Regions from separate parts of the Homo sapiens genome. Here region 2 is linked to region 1. The links are contacts of gene promoters, found by promoter capture Hi-C in blood cells and fetal thymus (Javierre and others, 2016). All regions are on one chromosome and are shown on one strand. Each heading gives the region's core, a stretch centred on a gene start or on the middle of the fragment in contact. The rest is flanking DNA. Distances are from core to core; before and after follow the strand shown. Region 1 holds the start of TYW5 (tRNA-yW synthesizing protein 5). Region 2 holds the start of TRAK2 (trafficking kinesin protein 2).

Region 1 (5,347 bases), core at 1,667-4,166:
TATGAGATAAATGTTGCAAATATTTTCTCCCACTTTGTATTTGTCTTTCAAATTTGCTTACAGTGTTTCTGGCATACAAATGTTTCATGCAGTCAAATTTTAATCTAATATTACACCTGAATTTTGAGTCATAGCTAGAAATGCCTTCCATAGACCTAGATTATAGGGGAATTTACCCATATTTTCTACTAGCACTTGTGTAGCTTCATTTTGTTTTGTATTGCCGAGTGTACTCACAACTTGTGTAGTTTCATTTCTTTACATTTTTCTGATCCACTTGGAGTTTATTCTTGTGTACAGTGTGAGATATAAACCGAATTTTATCATTTTCTAAGTGAAACTCCTCTGTATAATACCATAATGGTGGATTCATTTCATTATAAATTTGCCCAAACCCATAGAATGTACAATATCAATAGTATACCCTAATATAAACTATGAATTTTGGGTGAAAATGATGTGCCAGGCTGGGCGCGGTGGCTCACGCCTGTAATCCCAGCACTTTGGGAAGCTGAGATGGGCGGATCACCTGAGGTCAGGAGTTTGAGACCAGCCTGGCCAACATGGCGAAACTCCGCCTCTACTAAAAAATACAAAAATTAGCCGGACGTCGGGGCGGGTGCCTGTAGTCCTGGCTACTCAGGAGGCTGAGGCAGGAGAATCGCTTGAACCCTGAAGGCAGAGGTTAACGTGAGCCGAGACTGTGCCACTGTACTCCAGCCTGGGCGATAAGAGCAAAACTCCATTTCAAAAAAAAAGAAAAAGAAAATGATGTGCCAATGTAGGTTTATCAATTGTAACAAATATACCACTCTAATGAGGGGATGTTGATCATGGAGGAGGCTATCCATGTGTCAGGGCAGAAAGGACATGAGAAATCTCTGTACCTTTGGTCAATTGTGCTGTGAACCTATAAAGCCTCGAAAAAACAGTCTATTTTTTAAAAAGTCATTTTGTGCCTTATTGATTTTTGAAATGTCATGCTTATTATACACTAAATTTCCATAGGAATAGGTATTTCTGCACTTTCTATTCTATTCCCTTGGTCTATCTATTCATGTACCTGTACAATATACAGTGTTAATTATGGAGTTATTAGAAAATGTTTAACAAAAAACTCATAGCACTATGCCCCCTCATACTTTTTAGTGTTTCCAGATAGAAAGGTCTTTTTTTCCAATTTTGTTATTAATTTCTAGTTTTACTGCCCATGGCCAGAGAAAGTTGTTTGTAATTTTCGACTTTTTAAAATGTAATGATGCTTTGTGCTGTATGTCTTGTCTGAAGAGATTAAATTACAAAATACCTTTTGCTATGACTCTTACAAAGCACTTCCACATACCCTAATCTTCACAACACTGCCCTTTAGGCAACTTACGTCTAGCACATTCTGAGATAGGGGGTGTCTAAGGACAGGGAGAGCAAGAACAACCCATCTAGTACAAGTCTCCAAACTAATAAAGGCTTGAATCCTCTCCCGTAGGTTGCTATCAAAAGAAAAACTTCATTCCTCCCGCATCCCCCCAACCCCGCCTTTTTTTTTTTTAAGCTAGGGTCTCACCCTCTCGCCCATGCTGGAGCAGTGGCAGGATCATGGATCACTGCAGCCTCGACCTCCCGGGCTCAAGCAGATCCTCCGACCTCAGCCTCCAGAGTAGCTGGGAATACAGGCGTGCGCCACCACGCCCGGCTAATTTTTGTATTTTTTGTACAGACGGGGATTCACCATATTGGCCAGGCTGGTCTTGAACTCCTGACCTCAAGTGATCCACCGACCTGGGCCTCCCAAAATGTTAGGATTACTGGCATGAACCACGGCGCCCAGCCCATCCGACTTTTGTAACACTCAGAATTGTAGTTTTGTTTGTTTGTTTGAGACCGAGTTTAGCTCTTGTTGCCCAGGCTGGAGTGCAGTGGCGCGATCTCGGCTCACTGCAACCTCCGCCTCCCGGGTTCAAGCGATTCTCCTGCCTCAGCCTCCCGAGTAGCTGGGATTACAGGTATGGGCCACCACCATGCCCGGCTAATTTTGTATTTTTAGTAGAGATGGGATTTCTACTGGCTGGTCTTGAACTCCTGACCTCCGGTGATCCGTCCGCCTCGGCCTCGCAAAGTGCTGGGATTACAGGCGTGAGCCACCGCGCCCGGCCCCAGAACTGTAATTCTATGACCACCCTTATAAATGTAAATATCAGGTAAGAAAATTGCTGGGTATTTTTCCTACCATAAACTGACTTACTGTAATCCTGTGGATTTTTCCTTTTAATACCTTGTTTTTCTTAGGTCTGGACTCCCTTGAAAAGCACTGCAAGTAAAAGCACTTTTTGTTTCCCTAATATTTCTCTATGAGTTTTCTTTTAAAGACCTAAGGTTCTAACTACAGGTATAAAAGACTCCAATGTCGGAACTAGAACCTAAGTAAGTTAGAATTCAAGACGAGTAGGAGTTTTCCGGGGGAATCCCATTGCTTTCCTTTTTGGCTCAGTGGAGTGAAAAGTTGTGCCTTCAAATCCATTAATTCGGAGCAGACTGACAGATGCGGAGTAAAGAGTTTAGGCAAAATACCTCTCGCACTCAGCTCTCCGCCATCATCTTGCTCCCCAGAAACATGGGACTTTCTCCGGAAATTTCAATAGAGGAGCCAGTCGGCGTCCCCCGTGCACCTTTCCCTTGGTCTAAGGGCCAACCAGTGATCTGCTGCCGTCCTGCGCCTCTTTCCCACACCCTGGGTCTCTAAAAACCAGTTCCCAGCTGTCCGAAAGGTAAAGACGTGTCTCTCGCTGGTTTCTCGAGGTTCTGCCCCGCGCGAGGGCCTCACCTGTGGGTAGAGGTGCTGCATGAACTGCTCCCGAGAAACGCCCTCCAGCCGGGGTACCGGGAGGTGCTGCCCGGCCATGGTTGCTCACGCCTGCCCTCTTCCAGGTCTTCGGAACTTCGGCTCTAAAGCGTTCCTCAGCGCCATCCGCCCGGAAACACGAGCGACAGAGAAAAGGTCCGCGAGGCCGGCAGACTCCAGAGTGGCTGGGTCCGAGCGCGGGGCGGGTTGCCGAAGGGCCTCGGCCTGGGCTGCGTGCTGGAGAGCGGGGACGGGGCCGACTCACCAGAGGCTGCAGCAACAGGTCCACTTTGCTCTCCAGTCTCTTTCTCCGACACCGCTGAGGCGGTTTCCCACCGACTTCCTTTCCATACAGCACCGGCAGGCACCGGTGTGAAGGGTCATAAAAATGGCGCTGGCCGCTCGTTTGCTACCCCAGTTCCTGCACTCTCGGTCGCTGCCCTGCGGGGCCGTCCGACTCCGGACTCCTGCTGTGGCCGAGGTGAGGCTGCCGTCGGCCACACTTTGCTACTTCTGCCGCTGTCGCCTCGGCTTGGGAGCGGCGTTATTTCCACGAAGCGCTAGGGCCTTGGCAGCCTCGGCGCTACCTGCCCAGGGCTCCCGGTGGCCAGTGCTCAGCAGCCCGGGACTCCCCGCAGCCTTCGCTTCTTTCCCTGCCTGCCCTCAGCGCAGCTACAGCACGGAGGAGAAGCCCCAGCAGCACCAGAAAACCAAGATGATCGTCCTGGGATTCTCCAACCCCATCAACTGGGTTAGGACTCGAATTAAGGCCTTCCTTATCTGGGCCTATTTCGACAAAGAGTTCAGCATCACAGAGTTCTCCGAGGGAGCGAAGCAGGTTTGTTTATTTCCCTGATTGACCTATCCGTCTCTAATGAGTTCAACTATTGCTCGCAGAAGTGCTTAGCAGTGAGTTTTCTTCACTGGGATACAAGTGATCAAACGTGATTAGTGGCCCAGACATAGAGCCTTCCAGCCATTGCTTGACTTAAAGTAAGCTTCTGGGCCGGGAATGGTGGTACACGCCTGTAGTCTCAGCTACTTGGGAGGCTGAAGGGGAGGATCGCTTGAACCCAGGAGTTGGACGTTGTAGTGAGCTGTGATCGTGCCATTGCACTCCAGCCTGGGATACAGAGCCAGGCCCTGTCTCAGAAAGAAAAAGCTATATGGCTCATCTTGTCTGAACATAATTTTCAAATTTACAAAGTGGGCAAGACAATGCCTGGCACATAGTAGGCACTCCATGAATGTTTGCTGAATACATTAATAAATGGGTAAGATTGAAGAATAATTGAGATAACATTTCCAAAGTGCTGTAATGTCACCTTGGGTAGAAGAGCAGAACTTCCTGCCAGCTATTAGACAGAGCCGACCAATACACCACCCCATACTCCGTAAAGATTAAACTGGAGATGAGCAATTTTACCCTTTCAAAGGATTTGCTGAGACTGCCTGGTGGCTAAGTGCACAGCACCCTGCACACAGAAAATATTTAGCCTTTAGAGATTCTTATCCCTGACTTTGTTAGTTACGTACCTGTTTCTGAATGGCTGATTATACCTTGCCTTACCCTTGTGACATATGGTCACTTGGGTCCTGAGATTATTTGTAGATTTTGTGGGTACATGCTTTTTTTTTTTTTTTTTGGACTCCTTTACAGATTGTATCGTTCCCAAACATTGCAGAACTGCTGATAACAATAGAAGTCGGCCAGGCATGGCGGCTCACGCCTGTAATCCCAGTACTTTGGGAGGCCGAGGCAGGTGGATCACAAGGTCAGGAGTTCGAGACCAGCCTGGCCAATATGGTGAAACAGTGTCTCTTCTAAAAATACAAAAATTAGGCGTGGCGAGCCCCTGTAGTCCCACCTACTCTGGAGGCTGAGGCAGGAGAATTGCATGAACCCGGGAGGTGGAGGTTGCAGTGAACCAAGATTGCGCCACTGCACTCCAGCCTGGGTGACAGAGCGAGACTCCGTCTCAAAAAACAAAAACAAACAAAAAAACCACAATAGAAGTCAGAAAGTTTATTTCCCGCTTCATACCTCCATATGCCTTAAAACCATGCTATTGGTGTAATCATTTTACAGTATTGGTTGTATACTGGTATTGATATTTTACTCCAAATTTATTTCAGATTCTTTCCATAATCATGGCCATTTGTATTTATAAGACCAATCAGTTGTAAATCAAATGTTTTCAACTTTGTTTAATAAGTGTCAGTATTAACTCCTGCTGCCTGCTTCTCTGAGTCAACTCTTGACTACTATATATATTTATATAAAAAAAGTCAAAGAACAAACTTGATTAAGATGCTTAACTCAGCATTATAATTGATAAACCTCTGCTCTTGTCAGTTCTCAAAGTCTTTTGTCCATGCAGTGGTAAGTTGTATTGATCCTACTGTTCTGTACAATGCCCACTGATGATATATGAGCTTGTCCACCTCATAACACATATGATGGTACCAGTTCATTTATGTTTCAGTAAGGAATGGAAATCATCTCCCCAC
Region 2 (5,347 bases), core at 1,409-3,908, 1.5 Mb after region 1:
AATTCTCAGTCCTGTAACTCTGTCCATGCTATTTCTTCTAATTTTAATGTCCTCTCCCCATTCTACATATCCAAATTCTAGCCATGCTTCCCACACCAGCTCAATGCCACTTTTCCCAACAGGCCTTCCCAGAAACCCCAACTTGAAGGAGGTATTGCCTCCGAACACTTTCTGCTCTTCTCTAAAACAGTTTTTAAAACCTTAGAGCTGTTCCTTATCTCCTCTGATAAACTGCATGCCTCTTACAGCAAACATACTTATTTTTGTATTACTCTGCCCTCTTTTCACAAATAAAGAGCTAGATAAATATCATATAGCAACAGCACAGTGTAAAGCCAAGAACACAGACTCTAAAGACAGACTGAGTTTGAATCTTAACTCTGCTGCCTGTTAGCTATGTGATCTTGGACAAGCTACTTAATCTCTCTGTGCTTCAGTATGTTTACGTTTAAAATGAATAGTAGGTATTTCAAAAGGTTGTCAAAGAATTTGGCTTAAATCTGTGTCAGCACCATAAAAGTGTCTATTAAATACATAAGATCACTTTTTAGAGTGGAAAAATCTGAATATTCTGATAGTTGTATAAAGCTTTATGATCTATACAAGGAAAAGCAAAATGTCAAAATAAAGACAGCCTCTGGGTACAAACAGCTATATACAAATTCTTTCCCTATCTTCTTATGTACACCCTAAGGGTTAGCTGTGCCCTTTATAATGTTATATTAACAGTGGCTCTGTTTTAGTTAGACATTTCAATATTCTGGGAAAACTGTTAGTTCAGCATCCTGTGGCACTAGCTACCTTGGTTACCTTGTCTCCGGTCTTATTACCTTTCATTTATCCTTTACAAGTCTTAGTCTTTCTAAAATGCAAATCTAATGCTTTTCCACTGCTACAAACCACCTCCATCCCATCTTCCTTAGGATAAAGTTTAAGCCCCTTGGCATCTCATGTAAAATCTTCCTAATCCAGCCCCAGCCTAGTCTCCAGTTTCATTTCTCTCAACATTTATCTCTTCACCAAAAAACCTCAATCACCTAACCACAGCTTAAAGGCTTTTTGTATGTCAACTTCTATCACCTAACCACAGCTTAAAGCCTTTTTGTATGTCATTCCTTTTGCCTAGAACACCTATTTGTTAGTTTGCTAGGGGTTCCATAAAAAACTACCACAGACTGGGTGGCTTCAACAACAGAAATTTATTTTTTCACAATACTGGAGTCTGGAAGTCCAAAATCAAGGTGTTGGCAGGTTGGTTTCTCCTGAGGCCTCTCTCCTTGGTCTTCTTGATGAATCCTCACATGGTCTTTCCTTTGTGTGTGCAACTCCTGTGTCTCTTTTTGTGCTCAAATTTCCTTCTTATAAGGAAAACTGTCAGACTGGATTAGAACCCACCCTAACGGCTTCATCTGAACTTAATCACCCCAAAGCCCTGTCTCCAAATACAGTCACATTCTGAGGTTACGGCTGTTAGGGCTTCAATATAATTTTGGGAGGACACAATTCAGCCCATAACAACCCCTTCCCCTTTTCTCTGCCCAGGCTAATTCCCATTTGTTTTCCCAAGACTGGTCCAAGCCTTCCCACTCCAGAGTAACTTCAGTGTTCTTTCTCTGTGCTCCCAAAGTACCTCGGCAAGCTGTGATCCCATTGCTCAACACACTATGTTAATTGTCTCTTTCCTTCTTCAAACTACATTCCTTAAGAGCAAAGACTAAATTCCTAGCATTGGCACAGTGTGTGGCACACAGAAGGTGTTTAATAAAGATTTGATCACTGAAGGAAAATGAAAGAAAGAACAGGAACCTTGAAGTACGACAAGCATGGGTTCAAATCCTGATTCCACAGTTTACTTATCTGTGACTCTGAGCAAGTCATTACATGCTGAACTTCCATTTTAAATAAGGTAGTTGTAAAGACAAATGACTAACTCATAATGAAAGCACCCAGCTGTGGGGCTGGTACACAGTAGGTTCTCAATAAATGTTAGATTACAGATTTTGATCTTGTCTTCTCTGACACTCAGTACTACCATGTAGTAGCTACATGACCTTTGGTATATTTACTATCTTCTCTTTGCTTTAGTTGCCTATCTATAAAAACACCTCAGTGCTATTGTGAGGATAAGTTAATATAGGTAAAACATTATCTAACACATAGTATTACATAAATGTTTCCTATTATTATAAGAACACTGCAGATCTGAACAGATAATGACTCAACTATGAATAATTTAGTTCTTTTAATTACTAAGTCATTTAAATGTGACTATTACCTTTTTGCCTCCTATTTCTTACCAACTAAACAGGATGGTAACTAAAGAGGTTCAAAACTGGTACAGATAATATAATGAGAGCTCACAATAAACATGAAATAAGACATTATCTGTCTCATTCCTTATACTGGTATTTAACATATTTGGGGCACTAAAGCAAAGAAAGTTTCAGTGGAGAATAACACTTCTCTGCTCGTATTTTAATTTTTTTTAGAGATGGCGTCTCACTCTGTCACTCAAGCTGGAGTGCAGTGGTGCCATCATCGCTCAAGGGATCCTTTGATCTCAGCTGGCACTACAGGCACAAACAACCACACCCAGCTATTTTTTATTTTTGGTAGACATGGGGTTTTGCTATGTTGAACAGGCTGGTCTCAAGTCATCCTCCTGCCTCGGGCTCTCAAAGTGCTGAGATTACAGGTGTGAGTCACCACACCCAGCAGGGTCATATTTTTATTTGCAGACTCACAAAACCTGTAAACTGAAAAGAACCTTTTGATAAAAGTCCAGTCTTATAATTTCTTACATAAGTGAGATGGATTTGGAATGGGCTTTTCGGGTCTTACTGAGCAGTTCAGTAAGAAATGGGAATTGTAGGCAGAGAGAATCAGTTTGTTCAAAAGTACTAAAGCAGGGGTTCAGGACTTATTCCAGATGTCCAAGGTGTGTGTTGGAACCAGTCTTAGACAATAACACTAGACAATCCTCTTTAACCACTCAACCTTTAAAGTCTATAATTTCTGAAGTACGTATTAGTTACCTGATCTGTGACTTGGAAGCAAGGCAGATCTAGATTTAAATCTCCCCTTGTTACATAAGCAAGTCTTTGAGCCTCAGATTAGTGTGATAGGTTTGTTAAAGTGATTAAGTGAGCTAAAGTATGAAGAGCTCCCACCTGGGGTGCCTGGCAGATTGCAAATACTAAAATGTTGGTTCTTTTTTTTTTTTTTTTTTTTTGAGACTGAGTTTCACTCTTGTTGCCCAGACTGGAGTGCAATGGCTCGATCTTGGCTCACCGCAACCTCCGCCTCCTGGGTTCAAGCGATTCTCCTGCCTCAGCCTCCTCAGTAGCTGGGACTGCAGGCATGTGCCACCATGCCTGGCTAATTTTTTTTTTTTTTTGAGATGGAGTCTCGCTGTTGCCCAGGCTGGAGTGCAGGGGTGCAATCTTGGCTCACTGCAACCTCTGCCTCCGGGTTCAAGCAATTCTTCTGCCTTAGCCTCCGAGTAGCTGGGACTACAGGCGCGTGCCACCACGCCCGGCTAATTTCTGTATTTTTAGTAGAGACGGGGTTTCACCATATTGGCCAGGCTGGTGTATTTCCTTTCAGTAGAGACGGGTTTCTCCATGTTGGTCAGGCTGTTCTTGAACTCTCCACCTCAGGAGATCTGTCCTCCTTGGCCTCCCAAAGTGCTGGGATTACAGGAGTGAGCCACAGCGCCCGGCCAAATGTTGGTTCTTTCTAACAAACCTCTTCCATCATATGAATAAGTGTGTAAGATAACAAAACACTGTCTTTCACATGGTATGTGCTTGCTAAATGTCTGAGACTTGCTGGACATTACTTAATTTTAAAAATAGAAAACTGGAGCTGGGTGTGGCGGCTCACGTCTGTAATCCCAGCACTTTGGGAGGCCAAAGCGGGTGGATCATGAGGTCAAGAGATCGAGACCATCCTGGCCAACATGGTGAAACCCCATCTCTACTAAAAACACAAAAATTAGCTGGGCGTGGTGGTGCGCGCCTGTAGTCCCAGCTACTCTGCAGGCTGAGGCAGGAGAATCGCTTGAATCCGGGAGGCGGAGGTTGCAGTGAGCCGAGATCACCCCACTGCACTCCAGCCTGGCGACAGAGCGAGACTCTGTCTTAAAAAAAAAAAAGAAAAGAAAGTTGGAATAACTGCTAGGATGATAAAATGTCTTCATCCCTGACCTTTCTCACCTCCAAATGTCCTTCACAATTTGTTTTTAAGTGTCATGTCACCACCATTAACCTGCTATTTGGAGACTACTGTACCTCAGACTTCCAAGTCAACAGCAAAGATCTAAAGGTCGGGAAGATTTACGGAGACCAAGAACTGAAAGTGTTCCTTTTGTTCCTATGGTCCATTCCATCAACTTGATGAATATCCTGTGAAGTTACCTTTTTTTTTTTTTTTTCTGACGTAGAAACAGCAGGTCTAAGCAAAAGGTGCATGAGCAAGAGCAAGTAACATCCCTATTATTATGACGCAGATTTTTTTTTAAGTTGAAATTCAATTTTTGGGCTGCTACTAAAAAGGACATGTGCGAATATCTATTATTTACGCTTCAAACTAAAGTCAGCCGTTTTTCTTTTTCAAGATATGTGGCATCTGGCTCAAAATCAATTGCAAGAAAAGCCCAACTCTATTTGACCCAGAAAGAGCTCTTTCCAATACCCTCTCCTCCCACTTACATCACAGATGGCGACTGAAGCTTAAGGTTTAATGCCCGACCCTAAAGCCACTCATCCTAAAAGACAGGGCTCCAGATGGATGCTGTATGGCAGAGGATAAGGCGCTATGAGAAGCTGCCAAGCCTCAGATGTGCAGCTGGGCTGAATACCGACGCCAGCGCCTAGCGCCCATTACTTTGCACCCACACTTAGGAAACAACCCACGCCTCACCGCGGGACCCGGACCCAGCCCTCCAGCACCCAGCCTCCGGCTCCGACGTCCGCGCGTGACCTCCGGGTACCGGAGGACCTTGGGACGAGGAGGTCCCTCCGCTTTCCGGGGAAGTTGTCAAGGGCAAGTTCGGGTTCTGCGCGGACAGCTTACTCACTGGAGTGGTTCGGCATCCTCTGTCGTCCGCCCGCGCTTCCTCAGGAAGCCCCTAATGCAGCGGCAGCCTGAAAGCAGCAGCCGAAGCTGCTGCCGCTGCTCCCACTGCCAGCAACCGCCCGGGCGTGGCAGGGACAGGCGGGCGACTTCACAACATCATCACTCGGCGACCTCGGTTCTGCGGCGACACCGGGTCAATGGCAGCCCCCACACAATTGGGGAAGCCAAAGGAGAGCCACTCTCCCAGCGGCCTCCACGGCCCCAGCGC

Evidence for each region. The method cuts DNA at HindIII sites, captures the fragments that hold promoters and counts their contacts. A CHiCAGO score of 5 or more calls a contact.
Region 2: a fragment that was not itself captured here is called in contact with the fragment with the promoter of TYW5 in region 1 in 1 of 17 cell types (monocytes); the score reaches 5.3 in monocytes.

What each region holds. Positions count from the first base shown.
Region 1 is chr2:199,952,575-199,957,921 of GRCh38, forward strand. It overlaps TYW5 (tRNA-yW synthesizing protein 5), which reads right to left and starts at 2,917. Exons shown (of 8, transcript NM_001039693.3): 1 at 2,819-2,917. The coding sequence starts at 2,896. MAIP1 (matrix AAA peptidase interacting protein 1) reads left to right here and starts at 3,008. Exons shown (of 5, transcript NM_001394955.1): 1 at 3,008-3,674. The coding sequence starts at 3,225. RefSeq lists enhancers at 2,561-3,760, 2,871-2,990, 3,161-3,320, 3,341-3,440. The HindIII fragment of the contact is 7,808 bases long and covers 1-3,832 here.
Region 2 is chr2:201,446,270-201,451,616 of GRCh38, forward strand. It overlaps TRAK2 (trafficking kinesin protein 2), which reads right to left and starts at 5,189. Exons shown (of 16, transcript NM_015049.3): 1 at 5,081-5,189. RefSeq lists enhancers at 4,544-5,347, 4,802-5,331. The HindIII fragment of the contact is 4,144 bases long and covers 587-4,730 here.